3 separate regions of the Homo sapiens genome follow, and all the other regions are linked to region 2. Evidence: promoter capture Hi-C in 16 types of primary human blood cells and fetal thymus (Javierre and others, 2016). All regions are on one chromosome and are shown on one strand. The core of a region is centred on a gene start or on the middle of the fragment in contact, and the rest is flanking DNA. Distances in the headings are between cores, read along the strand shown.

Region 1 (4,790 bases), core at 2,198-4,697, 580 kb before region 2:
AATTTACTTTTACATTAATCATTTCCCCCAAAGAGTTCACCCTATGTTTTGACAGAACAGTTGGCATTTCAACTGATAAGGTATTTCTAGTTTTAAAATAATTTGGTGTTTGTATTTTGTTTTGAATATTTTTAAAGACTAATTTTAAGAATGCACTTTCTATAAAGTATATGCATCTTAGAAAACCAGGAACAGGGGAGAAAGTTTTTTAAATGATGATTGAAGATAGATTTTATTGGAGAAATGCTTTACTGATGTGTATTTTAGTGCATTTTAAAAACCTAAGTATCTGGTAGTATTCCCCTTGTAGTGAGCATGAGATTAAAGTTTAGAACTTTTTAAGACAATTCTTTTTTTGTGGTTGTGTACTCATTATTGCTTGTTCGTCTTTTGCAATTTAGATAAATGATATAACATTAAACTCAAGGTGGTTGAGTTGCAGTAGGGAGTCGGAAGCAAGCCAAGGGAACATCTTTCTCTACAGGGGACTTGGCGATTCCAAACCCCCAAGGTTCCAAGAAGAAACTGAAGACACCTGGAATCTGTACTTGCTTTGTGCTATTGAGCTGTGCTTGTTATACAGACCTTGTTGCTTGACCAACGGATTTAGCATTTAAAAACCCAATTATTTTTGAGAAATCTTGACCTCTTAGCACTTTGTGGACAGTTGAGAATTTGAGGCATTGTTATAATAGATTTTCCTTATATAAAACTCAGGCCTTTAGCTTAGCCCTCAGAAGTTACAGACTGCATGCATAACTTGTTAGTTTTCATAACTGGACAATAGATATTTTATGCAAAGCTATCTGTAGTGTTAGGGAGCAGTTTATGTACTTTTTCCGTTTCTCATTGGGGGAAAATTTCCAGGCAAGCAAATACTTTTCTTGTTAGTAAATACTAGAATTTGTGGATGTTTCATGATGGTTTTTAAAGTTAATAAATGTAAGGCCCACTAACAGCCACAGAGTCTAAAAATACTTACGAAATCCACAAAGGATTAACAGGCTGCTCTGATGCTTTTGGTAGAGTGAGAGAGAATTTGGTAATCTGTTAGAGATTATATTGCTGAGAAGCTACTAGGGAAGACTATTTGTAAAATAGTAAGGACTATATATATGTCTAAGCCCCTATGGTAGACTTAAAAAATACTAATTTAAATGAGTTTTAGGTTGGTTGATTTGTTGGTTGGTTGGTTTTGAAGTAACCTGTTTTTCTTCCTGTCGTGTCTTTTTGCAGAATCCAGACTCCAAAATGATGCAAATCAACCTGACTGGATTTTTGAATGGAAAAAATGCTCGAGAATTTATGGGAGAACTGTGGCCCCTGCTGCTAAGTGCACAAGAAAACATCGCGGGAATCCCTTCTGCTTTCCTAGAACTGAAGAAAGAAGAAATAAAACAAAGACAGGTAATAACCTTTTCTTTTCTGTAATGTCGATTTGAGAGTATTGGCCAGGCTGCCGAGACACCTTAGGTAGTATATGACTCAGCTAGGATCTTCATGTAGTTTTGCTTTGCTGTACTGTATTTAAACATTCAGTTTTGGTTCACTGCTCCTCCCTCCAACCAAACATTGAGTTTAGAATGTCATTTTCCCAGTCTAGTGATTTGCTAGATTTTTACAAATTCTTAATATGTGAGTGCATGTAGCTTAAAAGAAATTTGAATTTAACACTGAAAGGTAAGCATAAGGATTTTTGGTTTGTTGTTTTTTTGAGACACAGTTTCAGTCTGTCACCCAGGCTAGAGTGCAGTGGTGTGGTCTCTGCTCACTGCAGCTTTCACCTCCTGAGTTCAAGCGATTCTCATGCCTCAGTCTCCTGAGTAGCTGGGATTACAGGCGCACACCACCACATCCAACTCATTTTTGTATTTTTAGTACAGACGGGATTTTGCCATGTTGGCCAGACTTGTCTCGAACTCCTGACCTCAAGTGATCTGCCCGCCCTTGGCGGGATTATAGACGTGAGCCACCGTGCCCAGCCAGCATAAACTCTTAATATGGGCAATACAGATGAACTCCCAGAAAGAATAAGGTCAATGTGAAAGTGATTTTCTTTTTTATTTTATTTTTTATTTTTATTTTTATTTTTTTGAAGTAAGCTTGAAAACATCTCTTTAGTTCAGGTCTTAGAGATTAACTTTCAGTGAATATTTATTTGTAAATGAGTGGCGATAATACCAGTCTTAATGCGTATCTGTAGTGTAGGTGAAGAAAGAACAGGTCTGGTTCAAAAGAAGAGGCCGATGAAATGATAATAGCATTGGTGTTTAACACACGTAGAAAGTAGTCTTCAGTTTGTTCTCAAATGTTCAACTATGTGTATTTTGAAAACCTGGTCTTTGCAGATTGAACAAGAAAAACTGGCATCTATGAAAAAGCAAGATGAAGACAAAGATAAAAGAGATAAGGAAGAAAAAGAAAGCAGCAGAGAAAAAAGGGAGCGGTCTCGTAGCCCAAGAAGGTATCATACAATAGATGCATAACTGATGTTTTACAGGTACTTTAGGTCTTAAGAAACTTCCTTAGTTAAAAAGGAATCTAACAGCGCTATTCAAGGAATTTGTTCCATCATGCAGTTTTCATGGTGACCTGTGCCTTGCCTCTGGACTAAAGAAATCTGTCATATTTTGTTTGAGACAGATAATTTAGCCATGAGTGTCTCGCAGATGTTCATAAATTATCCAACTCTAAATTCCTAAATCAAAACTTTAAACTTTTTCTTCCATATTGCTTTAGTTCATAACAGTTAATTTGGGTTTTTAAAAATGTACTCTGACTCACTTTTTCTTTCCATTTCCTTTCTTCTAAAAAGAAATCTGTACTCGAAATCTGTACTCATTAGCCGTTCATGTAATACTTACCTAATTCCCTGTTCTGCTTTTCTTAGATGGTTGTACTGAACCCAAACTTCAGATCATTTATTTGTTTTCTTCTTCCAGTGAGACTATTGTTAGGTTCACATTTTTAAATCCACGGCTCAGCTTCTATATTTGTGGTGAAAGGTGAGAACTCCATTAGGCTTTTTATTTTTAGGGTTCTGCTTATTTCTTTCATAAATGTCTGCTGGAATTAGTAAAGAGAAGAGGTAATTTCTTTGTCCCTTTCATTTATATATTTGATACTAAAATCTCCTTATGGAAGTAATATTTATAGAGCTAAGCACAAATTGTCATGGTGGTAACTACTTGACTATTGATGAAGTATGTCTGCCATTTTCCTTCTGTGTGAATAAGAGAAAAACCCTTCGAGTTAGGCAGGCTACTGTTAAGAAAGAGGGCTTCTCCTCTCGCAAAAAAGCTATCTTCTGGATGTTTGATGTATATTTCTCTTTTCTGAAGAACATGTTGCTTTAATGGTATTAGTCATTTTTCTGGCATACTGAGGCTCTTCCTGATGAACTCCATTGTAATCTGTCCGCATCTAAATGTTTTATGTTTGGGAGTTTGATTTGTTGTCAAGGATTATCATTGTTTGCTTTAAAGCATCCTCTTTGCCTCTGAAAAGTTGGTCTTTTGATCTCTGGGAATGATTAAGAACCTAAGTCTAGAGTCCCAAGTTAGTGCTTTTCTCCCTTATAACTGATATACTCGAGAATGTTATCTTTCATTTGCTTGTCTTTCTCTTCCCTGTCAAGTAGATTAGGTTAGCATGTCTTATTTCCATAGGGAAACATCTCAGATATAAACAGTAGTGTAACTAAAGATTAATCCTCACTTCTCCCTTTGACTCCTCTCTTCCAATCCATGTTATTTAAAAACCTGAAAAAAATTACTTTCATCCTAGACGCAAATCCAGATCTCCTTCCCCTAGAAGACGATCTTCCCCTGTCAGGAGAGAGAGAAAGCGCAGTCATTCTCGATCTCCCCGTCACAGAACCAAGAGCCGGAGTCCTTCCCCTGCTCCAGAAAAGAAGGAAAAAACTCCAGAGCTCCCAGAACCTTCAGTGAAAGTAAAAGAACCTTCAGTACAAGAGGCTACTTCTACTAGGCAAGTATATAAAAATTCATTTATAAATAATCACAATTTTAGATTAATAGTGACTGCAAATATGACATCTGAGTTAAAATAAAACTACTTATTTTCCTTTTAGATTTTTTAAATTATAAAATTAGTTTGTTGAAAAGAAATTGTTTAGGAGAGTATATTAGAAGAAAATGCCCCAGAGGGTGACCATTACTATCTTTTGGTTGTATTGTTTCAGGTATTTTATATATTGTAACTTGCTTTTTTTCCTCAACGTATTGTGGACAACTTCGCACTTTTAAGAAATGTATGTGGTTGCCAGATGCGGGGGTGCATGCCTGTAATCTCGGCACTTGGGGAGGCTGAGGTGGGTGGATCGCTTGAGCTCACAAGTTAGAGAGCAGCCTGGGGCAACATGGTGAAACTCCATCTGTACTAAAAATATATATATATATATATATATATATATATATATGTACACACACACACACAAATTAGCCGGGCATGGTTGGCACATGCCTATAGTCCCAGCTACTCAGGAGGATCACTTGAGCCTGGGAGGTTGAAGCTGCAGTGAGCCAAAATCATGCCAGTACACTCCAGCCTGAGTGACAAGAGTGAGACCCTGTCTCAGAAGAAGAAAAGAAAATGTACATGGTTGGAATTATTAGTTGCTCTCTGGGTTTCAGTGATAGGTACATACATACTTATGTGTCTTTTGGAGATAGAGACAAGTCTGTGAATTTTGAAAAGTTTTAGAAATACTTTATTACATCATTGTGTAATGATTTAGAAGGCTGAGTACAAGAAGGCAAAAAAAAAAA
Region 2 (5,027 bases), core at 2,433-4,932:
GAGGTACAGAGAAGTTAAATAAACTCACCCAACGTGTTGCAGTTGGTACTGAGCAGAGCCAGAATTTCAATTCTGGCAGCTTGGCCTAAGAGCCAGTGTATACAACCACCATGTTGTAGTGTCTTGATACAACAGAATGATTGACTAAATCACTTATGAAGATAGAATAGTTCCTAACCTTTTTCTTTTCCTCTTCCTTTAGTTCCCACTCCAAACGAGCTTTTTTGGCTTCCCAATTTGCAGGTAATTTTAGTCTTTTATCTTCTTCCACAACTTCCTGGTGATTTAATTTACGAGCTTCATTCTAAAACCGTAACACAAGAAGTCTGTCAGCTAAAACATGAAAATAAATCCAGATACACCTTGCCTTCTTTGAGGAGGGTCAGGCAGGACATATTAATAAGCTGACCCCATTTTATCCTAAAAGCAATAGAGAGCCATCACAGGATTTTAAGCCAGGGAATAGCCTAATAGGGTCTACGTTTTTATGCAGTCAAGAAAAATGTGTTGAGTTGCACTGGTTTGCTGTTCCAGAGCCCTGGAGGTTAAAATCAGCTTTGCCTCTATTGAGTTGTGTGGTCCCTTTTTATTGGATCAGAACAAGGTTTTGCAGTATTGGAGACCATACTATAGTGGCACTTAAGTAGACTTTATTTGGCATTACTATTAAATTGGCCAGGTGCAGTGGATCACGCTTGTAATCCTAGCACTTTGGGAGGCTGAGGCAGGTGGATCACCTGAGGTCAGAAGTTCAAGACCAGGCTGGCCAACATGGTGAAACCCCGTCTCTACTAAAAATACAAAAATTAGCGAGGCATGGTGGTGCACACCTGTAATCCTAGCTACTCGGGAGGCTGAGGCAGGAGATTCACTTGAACCCAGGAGGCAGAGGTTGCAGTCAGCTGAGATTGCACTACTGCACTACAGCCTGGGTGACAGAGCGAGACTCCATCTCAAAAAAAAAAAAAAAAATTACGTCACATGATGTGAAAGACACTCTTTCTTTTTTTTTTTTGAGACAGAGTCTCACTCTGTCACCCAAGCTGGAGTACAGTGGAGCCATCTCAGCTCATTTCAACTTTCGCCTCTGGGGTTCAAACAATTCTCATGCCTCAGCCTCCCGAGTAGCTGGGGTTACAAGCGTGTGCCACAATGCCTGGCTTATTTTTTTGTATTTTTGGTAGAAACGTGGTTTTGCAGTTTGGCCAGGCTGGTCTCAAACTCCTGGCCTCAAGTGATCTGCCCGCCTGGACCTCCCAAAGTGCTGGGATTACAGGCATGTGCCACCACACCAGGCCTCAATTATCTTTTAATCCTAATTCAAGAAAAAAGCCTCAATTTGGGTTAGAGGATTTAAAACCTATCTTAATGCCTCTAATGCTTTCCAAGTTCCCCTCCTTTTAAATATTTTCACAGTTTGCATTGACAAATGAAAAATGAAAGGAATTTTCCATTTGAAGTATCATTGAAGAGTCTTTTTTTTTTTTTGGAGCTGGGGTAGCAGGGAGAAGAGTCTATTTTTAAATAAACTTAATTGCATAAAGCAAAATGAGTGTATCGTCTTAAGGAAAACTTGAGTTAGACATTCCTTAGGTCATAAGCTGGTGGCAGTTTGTCCAGGAAGCCCCGCCTCCTAATTTCCAGACATGTGTTCCTTACACAATCACTCTAAATATTTAAGCATGTCTTTTTAATTGTTTATTAGATTAACTTTCCCTCGGCAAAGAGAGATACTCCTCCCAACTACCATCCCTAGTATATTCTTGGCCCTGGAAAAGCCCTGCAATTAAAGACGCCAAGAACATACCTACGGTCAACAAAGTTGAGTCTGTTGCACAGAAGAGAGCAAACCACGGGGAACCGTGGGCATTTGAGTGACAGGGTGTTAGGAAGGGCTTGTTCCAGGATTTGGGTTTGTATCAGGTGACTGAGGGGAGGGTTAAGGATGTGGATTGGGTACTGTCAGAAAGCAGGGGCTTTCTACAATTAGGTATCTTAGATTTTTTTTTTTTTTTTTTTTGAGATGGAGTCTCGCTCTGTCGCCCAGGCTGGAGTGCAGTGGTGTGATCTCGACTCACTGTAAGCTCCGACTCTCGGGCTCATGCCATTCTCCTGCCTCAGCCTCCCGTGTAGCCCGCCAGCACGCCCGGCTAATTTTTTCTATTTTTAGTAGAGACGGGGTTTCACCGTGTTAGCCAGGATGGTCTTGATCTCCTGACCTTGTGATCCGCCCTCCTCGGCCTCCCAAAGTGCTGGGATTACAGGCGTGAGCCACCGCACCCGGCCCAGTATCTTACATTTTTATATAGGAGGCAGAAGTAACGGAGTGAGACTAATGCTGTATTTGTTAATAACAGTCACTGGTGTTAGTCAGAAGAAAGAAATATGTGGTCATTCTTGTAATTTGAAAAGTCTTCTTTGTTTTGTCTCACTACAACAGTCAGAGTGATTTTGGGATTTTGTGAAACCATGGCCTAGCTGTCAGGTCACTCCATGGTGAAACAGGGGCTGCTTTTCTCTTTCTCTGCTCCAACTGCAGCAAGCTATTTGCTGGACTCTTATCCCTAATACAAATTCTCTTTCTTTGAATTTGTTCCCTTTGCTTGGATATCTCTTTCTCTAACTCCTTTAGTTGTCTGGCTTTCAAACAGTAGTTTAGGTGTCACCTACTACATGAGGCACCCCCTGGAGACCCACAAACTGCATTCCTCTCTCCTCCTCTGCACCTCCAGGGCACTTAAACATCAGATTCCCTATCAACTGGCTGAACTACCACACTGTAGACTTTCAAAAGTTTGCCATTTTTTTTATTTTCTTTTTATTCTTTTCCCCCAGAAGTCCCAAAAACAGATGATTATTTTCTTTTCACTCAAACAGATTCTGACAGAAGATTATTATTTTTTAAAGTGAACCAGGTCTCTTACTGACACTAGACAAGTTTCTTCCTGTCTCTAGCTCTACATATTTCCCTAGGTAAAATGAAGAATTTGTTGGAATCACGGAGCAGGGAGGTTGTTAGTAATGGAGACTCCCAAACCTAACCCAGATACATTAAATTGGATGTGGGTGGGAGAGGGGCTGGAGTGAACAGTTATATTTTCAAATGTTCTCAGAATGATCCCAATGTGCTGCCAGGGTTGAGTACCACCGAACAGAGCTTTCCTCTCAGATGATCCTGCTCTGTTGGTCTGTCAGACGCAGTGGTGTGGCTTCCTCGTCCCCTCTACAAAAGCGCACAGGCTTGGCCAGATGACGGATCTAAGCCGGCCTCCAAGACTACTCACCCGCATCAGGTGCAGCTCCCGGAATTTGCGCAGTCTCTGTTCGCGCTTCTGAGCGGCCAGCTCCGCCGCCGCAGCGAGGGACCCCTCCTCCGCGCTGTCCACCAGCACCTGCGACAAGGAGAACTGGCTTCAGGCAGAGCCGGCTCAGCTTCTCCCAGGACTGCCCAGGCCGAGTCCCCGCCGGTCCCCACAGGCTGGGCCTAGGGCCTCCACCGCCGACTTGACCCCACAGTGTCTGAGCCTCCCTGAAGCGAAACTAGACTTCGCCTCCACCTCTCTCCAGGCCGCTCCCCGGAACCCTCACCAACAAAACCCCCGGTGTACGGTGGGTGGAACTCACCTCGGATGCAGCTATAGCCGCCATCACAACCTTTCTCTCTTCCCACTTCCGGCAACAAGATAGAGCACTTCCGTCAACCTTCAGACAAACGGGCCGATACGTACGAATGGGCTACCATAAGCCCCGCCCCTTCCGGGAGGTCTCCGGAAGTTGGGACCCTTTTAGCTATGAAATATTTTGGATTGCGTAGGGTCTTGCGCAGCCGCGAAAAGTAGCGTGGGCCAGGACAGCGGGAGGTAAGTCGCCAAGAAAAGGGTTGGGAAGAGCTCAGAATCGGACGGCTAGGAAGAAATGACCAAAAGGAGCCTGATAGCCCCCTATTCTGCACGCTGTTCCTGGAAACCGCCTTTGCAAAGACAGTGAGAGAAATCTAACATGGCTCACTCCATCTTGCTTCTAGCCTCGCAGGCCGGCTGTCTTCGCTCATTCCTGGGCATAAACCAAGCTAACCATGGGAGAATTTATAGTTTAACTTTTAAGCAAGGATGATCATAGTCCCTTCCTTAAACAGGGCCCCTCCTTGTTTGGGGGCTGAAACTGCCTTTATAAAACTAATGAAAGACCGGGAGGTTAGGATTATGAGGGGAGAATTCTGCTAAAATGTAGTAAACGATAACCAGCCATTGTTTCGGAGGACATCGGATGTGTAACTTCCCCAATTATTCCTGTAGATAACGTTATCGTAGCACCTAAGATTGGTCTTTTGAGGCATTTTTCAGACTTTCGCATTCTGGCAACTAACTGACCCCACCCAGACTCGTGACCCATGACCCAACCGCTTCTTCTGTCCCACTCCTCCCCCAAGAGGCGGACTCAGCTGTTGAGGAGTGTAGTCCACACCCCTGTGATTGCATCTCCAACCAATCAGCAGCATCCATTCCCTAGTGCCCTGCCCACACCAAACTATGAAATACCCTAACCTCTGAGCTGACCCTTCAGGAAAACTTACTTGAGTGGTAACCCTTCTTCCCTGAGGCCAGCCTCAGGTTAATACAACTGTATACTGCAGTAGCACTTTTCAGTGAATTGGTTTTGTCTGCAGTAAGCAGGAAAAACCTGCAGTGCCATTCATTCCCATGAGTGGAAAGTTCTTTCCATTTAGAGCTTAAGGTGTTGTCACTTTCTCCAAGAAGCAGGTCTTGCCCTTGGCCTGGTGTGGTGGTTCATGGCTGCAATCCCAGCACATTGCGGGGCGGAGGCGGGAGGATTGCTTGAGCCCAGGAGTTCAAGACCAGCCTGGACAACAAAGTAAGAATCAGTCTCTAAATTAAAAAATAAAAGTAATTTTTTTTTGTTTTTTTGTTTTGAGACAGAGTCTTGCACTATCACCCAGGCTGGAGTGCAGTGGCACCGATCTCGGCTTACTGCAACGTCCGGCTCCCGGGTTCAGACGATTCTCCTGC
Region 3 (4,344 bases), core at 1,094-3,593, 560 kb before region 2:
ACAAATTCACATCTTCTGAAAATTGCAAATTTTTGTTAATCAAAATGTCTTTTTTTCTTTTTTGTACTTAGTCCTGCAGACAGTGTCCTGTGTTGCAGTCAGCTGAGATAAACAAGTTTTATTGATATTTAAGTGAGAATATAAAGATAGCATGTTCACTTATAAATATATTCCCTTTGCCTAGTGCTAACTACAGTATAGCCAAACCTACTGATTACTTTTCATCCTGTTTCTGTATTTTGTTGAGCCTTTCAGCTTAATTATGTATCTTTTTCCTAGGACTCCTTCTCCTCCCCCACGTCGGCGCTCACCTTCTCCTAGAAGATACTCTCCTCCAATACAGAGGAGATACTCTCCTTCTCCACCTCCAAAGAGAAGAACGGCTTCACCTCCTCCCCCTCCTAAACGAAGAGCATCACCATCTCCACCACCAAAGCGGCGGGTCTCCCATTCTCCACCTCCCAAACAAAGAAGCTCCCCAGTCACCAAGAGACGTTCACCTTCATTATCATCCAAGCATAGGAAAGGGTCTTCCCCAAGCCGCTCTACCCGGGAGGCCCGATCACCACAACCAAACAAACGGCATTCGCCCTCACCACGGCCTCGAGCTCCTCAGACCTCCTCAAGTCCTCCACCCGTTCGAAGAGGAGCGTCGTCATCACCCCAAAGAAGGCAGTCCCCGTCTCCAAGTACTAGGCCCATTAGGAGAGTCTCCAGGACTCCGGAACCTAAAAAGATAAAAAAGTAAAAATATTTTATGCTTTTCCATTAGGAATACTTACATAGCTGTTTATATTTGGAAGCTTCCCCCCACCCCCATATAAAAGGAATAAGTTATGAATATGAGCTTTTAAGTCAAACTTGAGGTACTATTTACAGATCTTATTCCATTTTTTGGGATAGTTTCTGTGGTATAAGTTAAATGCCACAGGCTTTTACTTGGTTCTTAGCAGTTATTAATTTGTTTTTGAGGGGTATGCTTCCAAAACTAAACTTGAGTAAGACATTGAACATTTCTTGTGTGTGATGTAAGGAACTGACATTACTAATCTTACATAAGAAGCATCATTAACAGAATAGATAGAGGATTATGGGGCTTTAGCCACCCTCTGGGAAACATAGGTAATGTAAATTGGATATATGTTAGTTGAATCAACCAGCAATCTAAGTGGTATATTTGAAATTCATAACCTGGTTGTACAGTGTAGTTGGTGGTTTTCTCATGTGAAGAGAGATGGCTGTTCTCAATGCTGAATGTTTTTTCCTTTTTGTCTAGGGCTGCTTCCCCAAGCCCACAGTCTGTAAGAAGGGTCTCATCCTCCCGATCTGTCTCCGGGTCTCCTGAGCCAGCAGCTAAAAAGCCCCCAGCACCTCCATCCCCCGTCCAGTCTCAGTCACCGTCTACAAACTGGTCACCAGCTGTACCGGTCAAAAAGGCCAAAAGCCCAACACCGAGCCCATCACCGCCAAGAGTATGTGTCTGCCTTATTTTGGACACCCTTTTATAAATATGTATATGGTCACTTTGAAGCAGAGAAAATGTCATTGGGGCATTAAAATATTGGTGTTTAAACTTTTTTTCCCATTTGTGAGTTATACATCTGATCTTGGGCAGGTTTCTGTATTGCATAAAATCAGTGGTTAGGTGTCCATCTGTTTTTTGTTTGTTTTTGAGACAGGGTCTCATGCTGTCACCCACGCTGAGTGCAGTGGGATGATCATAGCTCACAGCAGCCTTCCTGGACGCAGGTGATCCCTTCGCCTCAGCCTCCCAAGTAGCTGGGATTATAGGCACATGCTGCTACACCTGGCTGGTTTTTTGTTTTTAACTTTTTGTAGAGACAGGGTCTTGCTGTGTTGACCAGGCTGATCTTGAACTCCTAGCCTCCAGTGATCCTCCTGCTGTGGCCTCAGATGTCCATATTTAATTGGGTTGACTGAATAGTTGTGCAAGCTAACTTGTGAGGAATTTTAAGTAATTGCTTAGAAGTGTGAAATTGAAATATTATGGATTAAATTATAGGAGCCTGCTTTTTGCATAAATTTGGTATGTGTGTCATGAGGAAGAACCAGTCATCCCCACTCTAAAGATAGGAGAGCTCAGATGGTAGCTAGAGACATGGCATTCATACAGGCATGTGTTTAGACTAATGGCTGGTACCATTTATTAAAAGTCTGCTACATGTTAGGCAAGTATTATGGGTGATTTACAGATATTCTCATTTAATTTTCACAAGAGCTTTATCAGGTAGGGATTATTACACTTATTTTAGGTAAAAAGGTCTCAGAAAGAGTTCAACAATTTGTCTAAGGTCAAATAGTTCAGGAGCTGGAATTGAGCTCATCCTGGAGATAGCCCCTGACTTTTGAATACTTTTCTTGGTGATAATTGGCCTTGGGCCTTCCCCACTCACACCCTCCAAAGCCTTTCGGAAATCTTGAGATTTGTCCATTGGGGATTTGAGGAAATAAAATGTTCAGTTGGACAGAATATTAATCAGATTGATTATAAATGCTGGGTGTTGTTTTTTTTTCTTCCTAGAATTCAGATCAGGAAGGAGGTGGAAAGAAAAAGAAGAAAAAGAAGGACAAGAAACACAAAAAGGATAAGAAGCACAAGAAGCACAAAAAACACAAGAAGGAAAAGGCTGTGGCTGCAGCTGCTGCAGCTGCTGTGACCCCTGCAGCCATTGCAGCTGCCACAACCACATTAGCACAGGAAGAGCCAGTGGCAGCGCCAGAGCCGAAGAAGGTATTTATGAACTCTGTATATGGCTGTCTTGCAGTTTACGTACAGATAGCAAAGTCATTTTGTTTTGAGAAGTAGCAAAATTGTTTTTTCTACTAATTAGCCAGTTACTCTGAGATAAAAGTCACGTACCATACAGTTCACCCATTTAAAGTTTGTGGTTCCCTGGGTTTTAGTATATCAGTTGTGCAGCGATCCCCACACTTTTTTTTTTTATAAAGGTGACTTATTTATTTAAAATATTAACTATCCACAGTGGCCATTATATTTGCATACAGTTCAGTACTCAAAAGATTTGTGAGGTTGGTTTTTTTTTTTGTTTGTTTTTTAATTTTATTATTATTATACTTTAAGTTTTAGGGTACATGTGCACAATGTGCAGGTTTGTTACATATGTATACATGTGCCATGTTGGTGTGCTGCACCCATTAACTCGTCGTTTAGCATTAGGTATATCCCTCCCTGCTCCCCCTACCCCACAACAGTCCCCGGTGTGTGATGTTCCCCTCCCACACTTTGATTCTGCTCTTTACTCGGCATTTCCCACCAGGGTCTCAAGACTTAACCGTGTAAATTCTGTTTTTTTTAGGAGACTGAAAGTGAAGCTGAAGATAACCTTGATGATTTAGAAAAGCACCTGCGTGAAAAGGCCCTGAGATCAATGAGGAAGGCCCAAGTGTCCCCACAGTCTTAGGGGGAAATGTTTGTTATGATGTAAATTTTATTTGGTTTGTACGCAGTTCAATTTCAAAATTGCTAAAATGTGTTTGAGCTTTAGACTATAACATTTGTTGTAATAATTGCTAGGTTGAAGTTCAACATGTAAAAAAAGGGGGCATGGATTTACATTGCAAAAGGTGTCCACAGTGTATTAGTGACATTCTTTCATTGACAGCTGACATAATTCATTGAGTGAAATATTTTAAGCCAAAAAAAAATTCCCTTTTTAAAAAAGGGGGTTTAAATACTGTTGGCATTTTTATGGTTCCTTTAAATGCCCTAGCTATTCCCAGAGGGGTTTTTTTGTTTGTTTTTTTGGTTTTGATTTTCTTTTTGTTTTTCTTTCTTCTTCTTATTTTTTTCATTTGAGTCTTAGCTCCCATTTAAGTTATGCTTCTGACCTTGTATGGTCTGTAAGCTTGCCCAGAAATAAGACCACTGTTTTGAACTACCACAAAAGTATAAATGAATATTTTAATGCCACAATCTTTCCTGTTGCCTGTGGAGTCTCTGCTGAAATGAATCAGGATTCGAGCTCTAGGATGAGACAGAAAATGAAAGCATGTTGTTTGCCAGGACACTGTGGGTTTATATTGATGTGTAACAAGTTGATTTGGAACACTGGACTCTCATTCTGTTATTCTGGTTTTGTTTTTTTTGTTTTGTTTTTTTTCTTTTGTAAAGGCAATGAGCTAGTCCCAGAAAGGATCCTTCAGTTACATACAATTTGTTTAATGAAATGTCATGGCTCTGTTCATATTTTTGTCTTGTTCTTCCAATTGGTATATACAACTTTCAGAGCCTCTTGTATTTGGAAGGCTGGAAGGGCCCAGACTTTGGAATAGTGTCTTGGTTTCACTGTTTTTGTTTTGATT

The links. The method cuts DNA at HindIII sites, captures the fragments that hold promoters and counts their contacts. A CHiCAGO score of 5 or more calls a contact.
Region 1: a contact is called between a fragment that was not itself captured here and the fragment with the promoter of SYF2 in region 2, in 1 of 17 cell types (neutrophils). The highest score is 5.9, in neutrophils.
Region 3: a contact is called between a fragment that was not itself captured here and the fragment with the promoter of SYF2 in region 2, in 1 of 17 cell types (M2 macrophages). The highest score is 6.2, in M2 macrophages.

The regions. Positions count from the first base shown.
Region 1 is chr1:24,647,623-24,652,412 of GRCh38, forward strand. SRRM1 (serine and arginine repetitive matrix 1) reads left to right here. Exons shown (of 17, transcript NM_005839.4): 4 at 1,237-1,407; 5 at 2,349-2,464; 6 at 3,787-3,990. Among named protein-coding and RNA genes, the nearest start is that of SRRM1, 6.7 kb to the left of the region's middle. The HindIII fragment of the contact is 2,694 bases long and covers 2,101-4,790 here.
Region 2 is chr1:25,228,820-25,233,846 of GRCh38, forward strand. SYF2 (SYF2 pre-mRNA splicing factor) reads right to left here and starts at 3,683. Exons shown (of 7, transcript NM_015484.5): 1 at 3,625-3,683; 2 at 3,285-3,392; 3 at 179-304. The coding sequence starts at 3,648. It overlaps LOC124903881 (a long non-coding RNA gene), which reads left to right and starts at 3,770. Exons shown (of 2, transcript XR_007065555.1): 1 at 3,770-3,860. RefSeq lists enhancers at 3,501-3,650, 3,793-4,706, 3,891-4,140. The HindIII fragment of the contact is 32,676 bases long and covers 1-5,027 here.
Region 3 is chr1:24,668,844-24,673,187 of GRCh38, forward strand. SRRM1 (serine and arginine repetitive matrix 1) reads left to right here. Exons shown (of 17, transcript NM_005839.4): 14 at 280-744; 15 at 1,277-1,472; 16 at 2,543-2,752; 17 at 3,339-4,344. The coding sequence ends at 3,443. Among named protein-coding and RNA genes, the nearest start is that of SRRM1, 28 kb to the left of the region's middle. The HindIII fragment of the contact is 3,084 bases long and covers 802-3,885 here.